4 separate regions of the Homo sapiens genome follow, and regions 1, 3 and 4 are each linked to region 2. Evidence: promoter capture Hi-C in 16 types of primary human blood cells and fetal thymus (Javierre and others, 2016). All regions are on one chromosome and are shown on one strand. Each heading gives the region's core, a stretch centred on a gene start or on the middle of the fragment in contact. The rest is flanking DNA. Distances are from core to core; before and after follow the strand shown.

Region 1 (3,080 bases), core at 451-2,950, 370 kb before region 2:
CTTAGCCTCCCAAGTAGCTGGGACTGCAGGTGTGTACCACCACACCTGGCTAATTTTTTGCATCTTTTTGTGGAGACAGGGTCTTTCCATGTTGTCCAGGCTGGTCTTGAACTCCTGAGCTTAAGCAATCTGCATATCTCGGCCTCCCAAAGTGCTGAGATTACAGGCGTGAGCCACCGTGCATAGCCCTGCCATGAATTCTTGAGCAAGGGTGAAATCAGTGTGTTTCCTCTTGAATTAGGTTTTCAGGAAATCAGGTAGCAGTGTGCTGGGTGGGCTGGAGGAGGGAGAAATTGGTGACAGGAGGTTTATTGTACTAGTTTGGGTGTGAAACATGGAAGGTTTAGTGCCACAGCCTTAGGGAGACATTGCAAAAAGGGACAAAAAACAAAGGAGAAGAAAGGACCTAAAGAAGAGGGAAGAGGCCGGGCGCGGTGGCTCACGCCTGTAATCCCAGCACTTTGGGAGGCCGAGGCGGGCCGATCACGAGGTCAGGAGATTGAGACCACGGTGAAACCCCATCTCTACTAAAAAAGACAAAAAATTAGCCGGGCGCGGTGGCGGGCACCTGTAGTCCCAGCTACTCGGGAGGCTGAGGCAGGAGAATGGCGTGAACCCGGGAGGCGGAGCTTGCAGTGAGCCGAGATCGCGCCACTGCACTCCAGCCTGGGCGACAGAGCGAGACTCTGTCTTAAAAAAAAAAAAAAAAGAAGAGGGAAGAGAAGGGGGAGCCTTAGGGATACTTTGGTTAAAGTCTATACTGAATTCAGAAAAATCCAGGTTCAGACACCGGTCCTACCAGGTCCTAGCCATGTGACCTTGGGTAAGTTATATGACCTCCCTCAACTTCAATTTCGTCATCTGCAAAACAGATATACACAATGACTACCTGCTTCCTAGGGAGATTCAAAGCTGTCATTCGGCTTAGGCACACAGCCTGGGGCCAGCACTGGGCACAGGCTCAGGAACTCCAGATACCCAGCGGCAAAGAGCACAGTTGGCCTCCCGAAGCTTCAGTTTGGAACACTGCATTGGCAATGGGACCCCAGACAGAAATGCAGTCATTAGAAAGGGAAAGGGAAATGTGTTTGTTTAGTTATTGCTTCCTCAGTGAGGTGGCTTTACTGTAGGAATATTTAAACAGCAGCGCTTTGAAATTGAGGCAGCCAAGATATAACCTAGTGGAGATATCTTAGGGGCTTTGGGAACAAAAGAAACAGAAACAAAGACCTGGAATTCAAGTGAAAGAGGAGGACAAAAAACACACCCCAAGGGGAGGCAGGTGGGTTTTGTGATGACAGTGGTCTCCCATCTGCCCTGTCCCCTGCTTCCGGCTCGGTTCACTGTCCCCTCTGCATGGCAGGGACTTCTCTCCACCACTTCCACCTAAGCCTAAACACACTTTCCACTAGGCTGGACTGACTGGCAAGTGACATCATTCTGGTGGTTAATCAAATTTTCTTGGCCAGGCGTAGTGGCTCACCTCCTCTAATCCCAGCACTTTGAGAGGCTGAGGCAGGCAGATGGCTTGAGACCAGAAGTTCAAGACCCAGCCTGGCCAACATGGCAAAACCCCATCTTTACAAAAAATACAAAAATTAGCTGGGCCTGGTGGCGCATGCCTGTAGTCCCAGCTACTCGGGAGGCTGAGGTGGGAGGATCACTTGAACCCGGGAGATAGAGCCTGCGGTGAGCTATGTTCCCACCACTGCACTACAACCCAGACAACAGGGTGAGACCTTGTCTAAAAAAAAAAAAAGTTAAATAAAACATTTTCCTGAAGGCTAGAGGCTCAAGGGGGAGCCCAGGGACAAAAGCGCAAGCTAGTGGCATCGGTGTCCCTAGAGCCCCAACTCCCCAGGATAGCCAGTGGGGCTGGCAGTGAATGGCAGGCTGCCTTTTTTCCTTCGGAACTGCCACCTCCACCTTCAGAACTTTCTCCTCTTTTTTTTGGTTTTTAGTCACAGAACAACAGCCAGACTCTCACCTTCTCCCTTTCAGAATCCCAAGAGCTACTGAAAATTACGGGTATTTTACTATGCAAAACAACTCAGTCCCCTGGTAGTCTCACTCCAGGCTAACAGGAAAGATCTGTCAAGATCTATAACCAAGATATGCACCAAGGCTCCCTGGCCTTCCTTAGCAAAACAAAGAAAACTGAAACTTTGAAATGACTTTTCCTGCTATTGTCTCACACCAGATTATTAGGGAATCCTCTCTAGAGCCATCAGTCTTTATACACTGAAGAGGGCAGTAGAAACTCTGTTGGTCCCTTTCATAGAGCAATCCCCAGGGGGCAGACTATTGTTTTCTCACCCTGGCAGAAACGTTGACTTGCAGATTTATTCCTAGCGGGTCTAGCTGTGATGACTCACACTTTTAGAGAAAGTAAGCTTCTCCAGGGAGAAGAGACTGAATCTTGGGGAATGCCCAGGGACTGAGAAGAGGAAAAGGAACAGAGACAGGAACAGAAAGAGCCGTCAGAGATGGCGACCAAGAAATTAAAGCAGGGAGACTGAAGGAGGCAGCCGAGGCTAAGAGCCAGGGTCTGAAGGAGAGGCCCGAGCAGCTGTCAGGGAGTTACTTCACCTCTTGGGGAGTTGCAGTGCACGCAGGACAGACAGTCCGCAAGTGGCCAGGCACAAGGCCCAGCACTGTATGGGCACTCCATAAATGTTTGCCGTTGTCATCATTAGAAGAAAGGGGTGGTCTTTGGGGCCTGGGTAGGGCCTGCTGCTGACTGGGGAAACGCATCCGCATCTGTTGCTCAGGAAGTCAGTGGGCACGTTTCAGAGTTCGGTTTTAGTCCGGCACTGGGGAGTTCTGGGAGGAGAGTGGGTGAATCTAGGAGCCACCCCAGAGACAGCAGGGAAAGGAGGCATTTCCTCTCCATGGGTACAAAGGAAGAAGAATCCTGCTAGGGGCCCTCCCTTCCTCTTCTCAGTTTTGTAGGGGGGTCACATTCTGGCTTAAGCGCCAATTTCCTTTTCCTTTCCCGTCCCCTCTGCCCCCATGTGTCTCTCCTCTTAACCAAGCCGAGAAAATTCTCCCAGGGTTGCTGGAGAGGCTTTGGGCTCGCT
Region 2 (3,103 bases), core at 152-2,651:
CTTTTTACACAAAAACTTCCTGACCCTCAAGAGATAATAGAAAAAAACTGATTTCTCTCCACAACAATCTCAGCATTACAATTGCTATTACTTTAAGTATTCTATCACATTGTGAAACACACACACGCCCCATTTGGTTGTGACCCCTTCTCCCCCAAAACCAGAAAAGCCATTAACCCAAAAATCATCTTACCCTCTCTCTCTCTTCCTCCTGCCGTCTTATTCCTTCTCCTTTCCAGGGCTCCTGAACTTTCTGTAAACAAATTGTCTAGGTTACAGGGGCCAGGCAGGGTGCAGCCACCAGAGAACTGTGGAGAACCTCAGGAATTATTTGTCAGCAGTCAGTCTGGAAGGCAGGCAGACCCCCCAGCCAGCAATCCAAAGACGGGTGGATATAATAACAGCAGTCTAGTGCTACCCTCTACGTGGATACAAGAGAAATAAATCCAATTCCCAGAAACTAAGACGAATTCTATCACCAGCGTTTGGGTTTCACTCCTAGGCTCAGAGACTGGTCCTTGTTCGTTCCCAGGCCACAGGTAACCAGGGGTCAGAGAACATTAGAGATGGAGGAGGAGGAGGGTCTGTGCCCCTGAGGAGTGGCTTCAGAAGGCAAAGCTGAGGGCTGGGGGATGCACAAGACCTTGTGGCAGGCACAGTGCCAGTTCAGGCCCAGCCACTTCCTCTAGCCTTCCCCCCACTTCTTCGAGGACTTCGCCCCCTGCCTACCCGAGGCCTTGTGCCAAGAAGTACCTCCCTCAGCCTGCACCGTGGTCTATCTACTGGAGACCCCAGCTGTCCCCTCAAAACCTTCGCTCCCCTGAGACAGTTCCTGGGAGCCTTCTCCTGATGTCGTCCCCTACCCCTTTCTCAAAGACCCTTCCTTGGGACGTCCCTCCTTCCCCTCCAGGGAGCTGAACTCTGCCACCCACCAGACAGGCACCCGCCCCCTAAACCCCCCCATTCCTTCCCATCGCCCGCTCCTCCACAACCACTTCCGGTTCCGGGACGGACACACACACAGTCACATCGTGGACCCCCCCTTCCCCGCCTGCCCAAGGAAAAGGGGAGGGGGGAGGAGCAAGCAGCTTGGCGCGCGCCGGCTGTAGCGGCGCGAGACTCACCGGGCGGCGACGGCTGCGGCGGCGCCAGAGCCTGAGCCAGGGCGCGGGAGGGGCGGCGTTTGCTGGGAAAGGAGGGAGCCGAGGAGGGTGGGAGGACCAGGAAGGGGCGAGGGAGGGGAAAAAGCGCAAGGCGCAGCGCGCGGGCACGCACTTCTGGAGCGAGACAGACCCACACACTCACACGCACGGAACGCGCGCGAGACACCCGCAGGGCGGGGGCGCGAGGTAGTGGGTGGCCCCCCCTCCTTGCTGCCCTCCCCTTGCACTCACCCGGAAGTGGTGCTGCAGCTCGTGCTCCCGCGAACCCCAGTTCCTCCACGCCCCCCTCCCTCCCCCCAACAGGCTCAGAGAAGAGCTCTGCGGAGAGAAGGCGGGAGCGCCGGAAACGAAAAGGGGGGAGGGAGGGAAATAGCAATGTAGGGGGGGCGCTAATGGAGAAAGAGGGGCGTGCAGAAGCCGAGTCACTTCCGGGAGTGGCTGGAACACTTCCGGCGCCGCTAGCGCTGCGAGATATTCAGGGCAGAAGTTACGATAACTCGGGGCGGAAATAGCTTCTGCCCAGCGACTGGGAAGAGGGGATGTGACGCTATAGCGGAAGTGAAGGCGGGTTCCGCTAGGGGCAAAAGCTGAAACCGGAGGACTCCGGCCCTGAGCTTCCGGAAGGGACATCTGGGGAAGGTGGGGGGGTGGAAACGCGACAGGTTCATGAATTATCCATCAAGGTAGGAGAGGAGGTGTGGGTTCTTCAGATGCTGGGACCCCGTTTCTCTTCCCTCTGGATGTTGAATAAGCTGATGTAGGAAATTACCATTATTTTTTCTGATACCCCCAAGAATGTCTCAATGCTTTGAATATGCGGGAAAGGACTAGGACGTATCCTTGTTTTTCGGAGGTCCCTACTTAGGTCCAGTTAGAAACTCTCCCAGCCATCAAAATCTGTCTCTCTGACACATCCCTTACTTTACTTTGGTCTTTTCTTGTTGCCCATACCCACATCTCTATCCCCTTACCCTGTTTTACTTAAATATAGCACTTATTACTGCCTGATTTATTGTTTGCTGTCCACCTCTCCCAACTAAAATATTGGCTACAGGACAGCGAGGACTGAATTGTTCGTTGCTGTATCCTCATATCCTGGCAGTTAAGTGGTCTGTAAACTCTTGTTGTATAAATGAACTATAGTTCATTATGAACACCTAAATATGAACCCTTTTAGGAAGCCTTGCCTGATTGCTCCAACCTGTAATGGTCCCTCTGAATTCCCATAGTATTTAATACGTACCTTTTATTGATATTTTAACTATTTCATACATGTGATTCCCCAGCAAGATTGTCAGTTCCTCATGGAAGGAAATACGTTGCTTTGCTGAGCATATAGTAAATGCTGAATATGTTGTTTGAACAAGTGAATGCTGTTACAAGCGTGCACCCCGACCTGGCCAGAATCCCCCTGGGCTCAGCTCTAAGCAGAACTGAGGTCTCTCCTACTAATGGTAAGAGCCTCTTGCTGAGAAAAATAACCTTTTTTTTTTTTTTTTAAAGACAGAGTGTCACCCTGTTGCCCAGGCTGGAGTGCATTGGCGCCATCTTGGCTCACTGCAACCTCTGCCTCCTGGGTTCAAGCGATTCTCCTGCCTCAGCCTCCCTAGCAGCTGGGATGACAGTCGCCCGCCACCACACCGGGCTAATTTTTTGTATCTTTAGTGGAGTCGGGGTTTCACCATGTTGGCCAGGCTGGTCTCGAACTCCTGACCTCAACTGATCCACCTGTCTCAGCCTCCCAAAGTGCTGGGATTACAGGCGTGAGCCACCACGCCCAGCAAAAAATAACTTTAACAGAAATAATTATAATGCTCATTTTACAGATAATGAAAATAAGCCTGTAAAGGATTAAGTGATTTTTTCCCCCAAGGTCAAAGCAAGAAAGTAACAAAGTACGCCTTTAAATATTTAAATAGATGATGCATTTCATTGTAATT
Region 3 (3,070 bases), core at 339-2,838, 330 kb before region 2:
CTCTGTGTCATCTCTGGGTTAGTTGCATAGATCCTGTCATCTAGGAGATAGAGGAGATGATTAATAAATAGTTGTTGAGTGAGGAATGAATGAATGAATGAATGAATGAATGAATGAAGGGGAGGAGGGGAGCAGGGTTAAAGGAGAAAGTGTGACCAGTGGTGAGCACGGAGCTGAGGGGAGGAAGATCAGTACCAAGTGTTTCCTGGGAGCCTCTTGCATCAGTATGTCTCAGAATGGTAGGTCCAAAACTCATCTGTGACAGGTGTGGGGACAGAGAGAAAGCAATCACAGAGGCAACACAGCTGCAGTAGGACTGCAATTTCACAGCAAATCACAGGTTCCAGAACAGGGAGGCTGTGTGGGTTGTAGCACAGCACATGTGCCACACGGCACAGAGAGGATCTGTGTTCTGCTACCCTGCCATCTTGGAGCTAGCGACGGGAGCCAGGCAAAGACGGAAAGGGGACTTCGGCCAGTGAGCAGCAGAGGAGGACTAAAGAGAAGAGGGAGAAGAGGCTGGCCAGAGATAAAGGGTGGGGTTCTGGTTGTACGGTCTCAAGCAGGTCATTGTTTCTAAGCTTATTCTCCTCCTCTGTAAAATGTAGGATGATTCTGTAAAATGAGGAGATTGGAACTAGGTGATCCGGGATATTCCACTGGCCTTGAAGAACAAAGGCACAGAGGCGTGACATACTGGTGCACATTCTAGGATGTACTGGGAAGTCAGCACTTCTAGAGCCCAGGCTAGATGCAGGGAAGGACTGAAGGAGAGGCTACAGAGGTGGCCAGTCCTGAAGGCTGGTGAGCCCTTCGCACACAGAGAGGGGACAAGTATAATGGTGGGTGCTGCCCCCATGGAAAGCAGGCACAAGTTCCATCAGCGGTGGAGAAACACGGATGGGTTTTAAAACATAGAGCTTCGAAAAAAAAAAGTGGTGGGGCACAGTGGCTCACGCCTGTAATCCCAACACTTTGGGAGGCTGAGACAGGTGGATCAGTTGAAGTCAGAAGTTTGAGACCAGCCTGGCCAACATGGTGAAACCCCGTCTCTACCAAAAATACAAAAATTCGCCAGGCGTGGTGGTGGGCACCTATTATCTCAGCTAGTCGGGAGGCTGAGGCAGAAGAATCGCTTGAACTTGGGAGGTTGCAGTGAGCTGAGATTGCACCACTGCACACTACAGCGAGACTCTGTCTCAAAAAAAAAAATAGTAAGAGGTGAAATGAGATCTATAACACAATACCATTTATATAAATTAAATACAGATTTTGCAAAAACACATAGAGATACACACTAAGCACATTACTATAGTGGCCTATGAGAATCAGTATAATGTGATGGTTAAGAGCACAGACTCAGCCAGGCGCAGTGGCTGACGCCTGTAATCCCAGCACTTTGGGAGGCCGAGGCGGGTGGGGTCACCTGAGGTCAGGAGTTTGAGACCAGCCTGGCCAACATGGTGAAACCCCATCTCTACTAAAAATACAAAATTAGCCGGGCACGGCGGCACATGCCTGTAATCCCAGCTACTCAGGAAGCTGAGGCAGGAGAATCACTTGAACCTGGGAGGTGGAGGTTGTCATGAGCTGAGATTGCGCCATTGCACTCCAGCCTGGCCAGTAAGAGTGAAACTCCGTCTCCAAAAGAAAAAAAAAGAGCACAGACTCCAGAATTAAATTCCTTGTATTTGAATCCTGGGGCTCTAACAAGTATTAGATGTGGGACCAAACAAGTTACTTACTTAATCTCTCTGTACCTCAGTTTCCTCAGCTGTAAAATGGGGATAATAAAAATATCAACCTCACAGGGGTGTTGAGCATGAAATTATGCTTAGAATGGTGTCTAGCCTTAGTAAGAGCTGTATTAGCTCACTAGTACGATTACAGGGATTCATTAAGATGGCTAAAGTCAAAAAGACAGACAACAGCATGAGGAGGAGGTAGAGAATTTAGAACCTTCATACATTGCTGTTGGGAATGTTAAATGGTGTGACCATTTGGAAAAGTCTGGTAGCTCCTCAAAATGTTAAATATAGAGTTACCACATGACCCAGCAGTTCCACTCATAGGTAAACACCCAAGAGAAATAAAAACATAGATCCATGTACAGGATCCACAAAAACATGTACAGGAATGTTCATAGCAGCATTAATCATAACAGCCAAAAAGTAGAAACAATCCAAATGTCCATCAACTGAGAATGGATAAGCAAAAATGTGGGCCGGGCGTGGTGGCTTACACCTATAATCCCAGCACTTTGGGAGGCCGAGGCAGGAGGATGGCTTGAGCTCAGGAGTTCGAGATCAGCCTGGGCACCATAGTGAGACCTAGTCTCTACTAAAATTAAAAAAAATTAGCTGGGCATGGTGGCATGAGCCTGTAGTCCCAGCTACTTGGGAGGCTGAATCAGGAGGATCGTTTCAGCCCAGGAAATCAAAGCTACAGTGAGGTCTGATTGTGCCACTGTACTCCAGCCTGGGTAACAGAGTGAGAACCTGTCTCAAAAAAAAAAAAAAAAAAAAGGTGGTGTATCTACACAATATCATAGTATTCAGCCATAAAAATGAAGTTCTGATCCATGCTACAACATGGATAAGCTTTGAAAACGTTATGCTAAATGAAAGAGGCCACTCACAAAAGACCACATATTGTATGATTCCACTTATGTGAAATGTCCACCACAGGCAATCCATAGAGACAGAAAGCAGAAGAGTGGCTCTCAGGGCTTGGAGGAGGGGAGAAAATGGGGAAGAACTGCTAATGGGTACAGGGTTTCTTTTTGGGGTAAGGAAAATATTCTAAAAACAGGTAGTGGTAATGGTTACACAACTCCAAATATATTAAAAATCACTAAATTATACATATTAAAAGAATACATTTATGGTTTGTAAATTATATCTCAATAAAAGTGTTATTAAAAAAAGATTATAGGGTGGGGGAAAAGGGTGTAGTTATCGGGGAGGAAAGGGGTGAGAAAGCCATGCTAAGGAGTACCAACTTGATGCTGGAGGCCGTGAGAGACACTGAACGATTTTAAACAGGAGGATACAGTTTGGATGTTTGTCCC
Region 4 (2,995 bases), core at 59-2,558, 370 kb after region 2:
CCCTTAGGCTCCAAAGTCCGGAGGTGCAGAAAGCCAGGACCAAGAGACAGGCAGCTCACCAGGGTGGACAAATCGCCAGAGATGTGGTAAGTGATCAAGGGTCCCTGAGATGACACAGACTCCATTCCCTTCATCTTCTCAAGAAAAGCGCTCAAGGGCCAGGCATGATGGCTCACACCTGTAACCCCAGCACTTTGGGAGGCTGAGGCGGGAGGATTGCTTGAGCCCAGGACTTTGAGACCAGCCTGGGCAACATAAGGAGACCCTGTCTCTATTAAAAAAAAAAAAAATTAGCCCAGCGTCATGCGTGTCACCTGTGGTCCCTGCTACTCAAAAGGCTGAGGTGGTAGAATCACTTGAGCGCGGGAGGTCAAGGCTGCAGTGACCTGAGATCGCACCACTGCACTCCAGCCTGGGTGACAGAGTGAGAACCTGTCTCAAAAAAAAAAAAAAAAGGGCTCTTGTCTGAAGCCTGGGTTTTGGTTTGACCTGGGCCTTTTCTTTATTCCGACCTAAGATTCTCCCCCATGGCCGATTGACTGCCTCTCTTCTTCCCCCTTTCTTCTGCCTCTGGCAAATAGCGCGTTCTGTCCTAGGCTACTGGTGCCTGGTCACCCGCCAATCTATGCCTCTGTTTTTTCAGGTGCATTGTCCTGTTTTCACTTTTGGCATGGGTTTATGCTGAGCCTACCATGTATGGGGAGATCCTGTCCCCTAACTATCCTCAGGCATATCCCAGTGAGGTAGAGAAATCTTGGGACATAGAAGTTCCTGAAGGGTATGGGATTCACCTCTACTTCACCCATCTGGACATTGAGCTGTCAGAGAACTGTGCGTATGACTCAGTGCAGGTATGTTATAAGCACAAAAAGAATAGAGATGGAAGACTAGGGCTAAGGTAGCGGAATAAGGATGTGGGAGGGAGTGCCACCTGTACTCACAGTGAACTGGAGTCAAGTCCTAGTGGCATAAATGTTCTATTCTCTCTGTCCCTTCTTTTAACTCCATACCAAAATATTACCCTTTCCTAGATTTTTTTTTTGTGACTCTTCTCTTAGATAATCTCAGGAGACACTGAAGAAGGGAGGCTCTGTGGACAGAGGAGCAGTAACAATCCCCACTCTCCAATTGTGGAAGAGTTCCAAGTCCCATACAACAAACTCCAGGTGATCTTTAAGTCAGACTTTTCCAATGAAGAGCGTTTTACGGGGTTTGCTGCATACTATGTTGCCACAGGTAAGGCTCACCCTTCTGCATGTGCCTTATTGACCCAGCTAAAAGATTAGAAATGAGAAATCCACTGAGCAACACATTGAATGAGGATTCTGTTCGTAATTCTTATAAAAAGTGTTGACTTGGCCTGGGTCGCTCCATAAATCACTTTTGTGAAATTCAAATGCATGATCATATCTTAGTGGTGATGATGATCATGGTAATAACACATAGTACATAATAAACAGCAATTTGTTGAGAGCCACTATAAACTGGGTATGTATTGGGGATTGGGGATTTTTCCTATTTTAACACAATCGTCACTTTAATCCTTCAAGGTAGGTATTATTTGCTCCATATAAAGATGAAGAAAATAAGGACTAGGAAAGTTAATAACTTGCCAAGAATCACACAAGGAATGTGTAGTATTTAAACCCATTCAATATATGGCATTCAAACCTTCAAATTCTGGGTACTTCTGTATCTCTCTCTAGGTTAAAATGAAGCTAGGACATCTCATAAAGCCAAACTATTGTTTAGATTTGACAGAAGGACCAACATCATATAAAGCAATGAATGTACTGATTCCTCCCTGCAGAAGGCATCGTCATGATGTTTACCTTGCAGAGTGTCATTCCTGGAGCTGAAATGCTCTGTACATGAGAAAAGTCAAGGATCTCTGACATTAAGAGCTGCCTAGGCCGGGCATGGTAGCTCACACCTGTAATCCCAGCACTTTGGGAGGCTGAGGCAGGTGGATTACCGGAGCCCAGGAGTTCAAGACCAGCCTGGCCAACATGGTGAAACCCTGTCTCTACTAAAAATATGAAAAATTAACCAGGCATAGTGGTGGTGCGTGCTTGTGTTCCCAGCTCCTCGGGAGGTAGAGGCGTGAGACTTGTTTGAACTTGCTTGAAAATGTGGAGGTTGCAGTGAGCCAAGATCCCACCACTGCACTCCAGCCTCGGTGACAGAGTGAGGCTATGTCACTTACACACACACACCCCCGAGCTTCCTTATAGCTGTGTAGTGGTAGGGCTCAACTCTGGAATCATATGTCAGGAGAGTAATATGGAATAATAGTAGCCTGAAATGTGATCCCTTGACGGATCTTTAAGCAATAGGCCTTTCCTACTTTTTCTTACCCTTATGGTTTTGGATTTAACCTCATTCTCCCTTCTTGGTGTTTGTTCTTGACCTCAGCCTCTTTCTACTCTTTGTAGACATAAATGAATGCACAGATTTTGTAGATGTCCCTTGTAGCCACTTCTGCAACAATTTCATTGGTGGTTACTTCTGCTCCTGCCCCCCGGAATATTTCCTCCATGATGACATGAAGAATTGCGGAGGTGAGCTTGGTGTTAAGAGGGTTGCATGTTCCCTGGGATTTGGAATGGCTGAGGCCTCAGAAAGGGCTTTGTCCACCCTTCCAACTTCGATTAGGCCAAGCCTTCATTTGGCACTTCTTTTTTATTTTAGAATTTATTTATTTATGTATTATTTTTAATAATTTCAATAGTTTTGGGGGTACTGGTGTTTTTGGTTACATGGATGAGTTCCTTAGTGGTCAATTCTGAGATTTTAGTGCACTTGTTACTTGAGCGGTGTACACTATACCCAGTGTGTAGTTTTCTCGCCCCTGTTTCAACCTCCTCCCACGTTGAGTCCCCAGAGTCCATTATATCACTCTGTATTGGCATCTATTCTTAGTTACTCATAAGCTGAGATGAAGCCACAAGAAGGAGGAAGATAAGACTATAGGGTAAAGTTAGTTAATTGGATA

What was found. Contacts are between HindIII fragments. The CHiCAGO score rates a contact against its expected background, and 5 or more counts as called.
Region 1: a contact is called between a fragment that was not itself captured here and the fragment with the promoter of ZNF384 in region 2, in 1 of 17 cell types (naive CD4 T cells). The highest score is 5.8, in naive CD4 T cells.
Region 3: a contact is called between a fragment that was not itself captured here and the fragment with the promoter of ZNF384 in region 2, in 1 of 17 cell types (activated CD4 T cells). The highest score is 5.4, in activated CD4 T cells.
Region 4: a fragment that was not itself captured here is called in contact with the fragment with the promoter of ZNF384 in region 2 in 1 of 17 cell types (activated CD4 T cells); the score reaches 6.1 in activated CD4 T cells.

What each region holds. Positions count from the first base shown.
Region 1 is chr12:6,321,134-6,324,213 of GRCh38, forward strand. The region is part of intron 13 of PLEKHG6 (pleckstrin homology and RhoGEF domain containing G6); the gene reads left to right. Among named protein-coding and RNA genes, the nearest start is that of PLEKHG6, 12 kb to the left of the region's middle. RefSeq lists enhancers at 1,799-2,340, 2,229-2,298, 2,349-2,438, 2,882-3,080. The HindIII fragment of the contact is 1,382 bases long and covers 1,010-2,391 here.
Region 2 is chr12:6,687,974-6,691,076 of GRCh38, forward strand. It overlaps ZNF384 (zinc finger protein 384), which reads right to left and starts at 1,402. Exons shown (of 12, transcript NM_001385745.1): 1 at 1,125-1,402; 2 at 194-253. RefSeq lists silencers at 1,251-1,360, 1,441-1,520 and an enhancer at 1,254-1,880. The HindIII fragment of the contact is 17,984 bases long and covers 1-3,103 here.
Region 3 is chr12:6,356,355-6,359,424 of GRCh38, forward strand. The region is part of intron 4 of SCNN1A (sodium channel epithelial 1 subunit alpha); the gene reads right to left. Among named protein-coding and RNA genes, the nearest start is that of TNFRSF1A, 16 kb to the left of the region's middle. The HindIII fragment of the contact is 2,019 bases long and covers 580-2,598 here.
Region 4 is chr12:7,061,832-7,064,826 of GRCh38, forward strand. C1S (complement C1s) reads left to right here. Exons shown (of 12, transcript NM_001734.5): 2 at 8-86; 3 at 644-851; 4 at 1,059-1,236; 5 at 2,436-2,561. The coding sequence starts at 82. Among named protein-coding and RNA genes, the nearest start is that of C1S, 2.6 kb to the left of the region's middle. The HindIII fragment of the contact is 7,460 bases long and covers 1-2,995 here.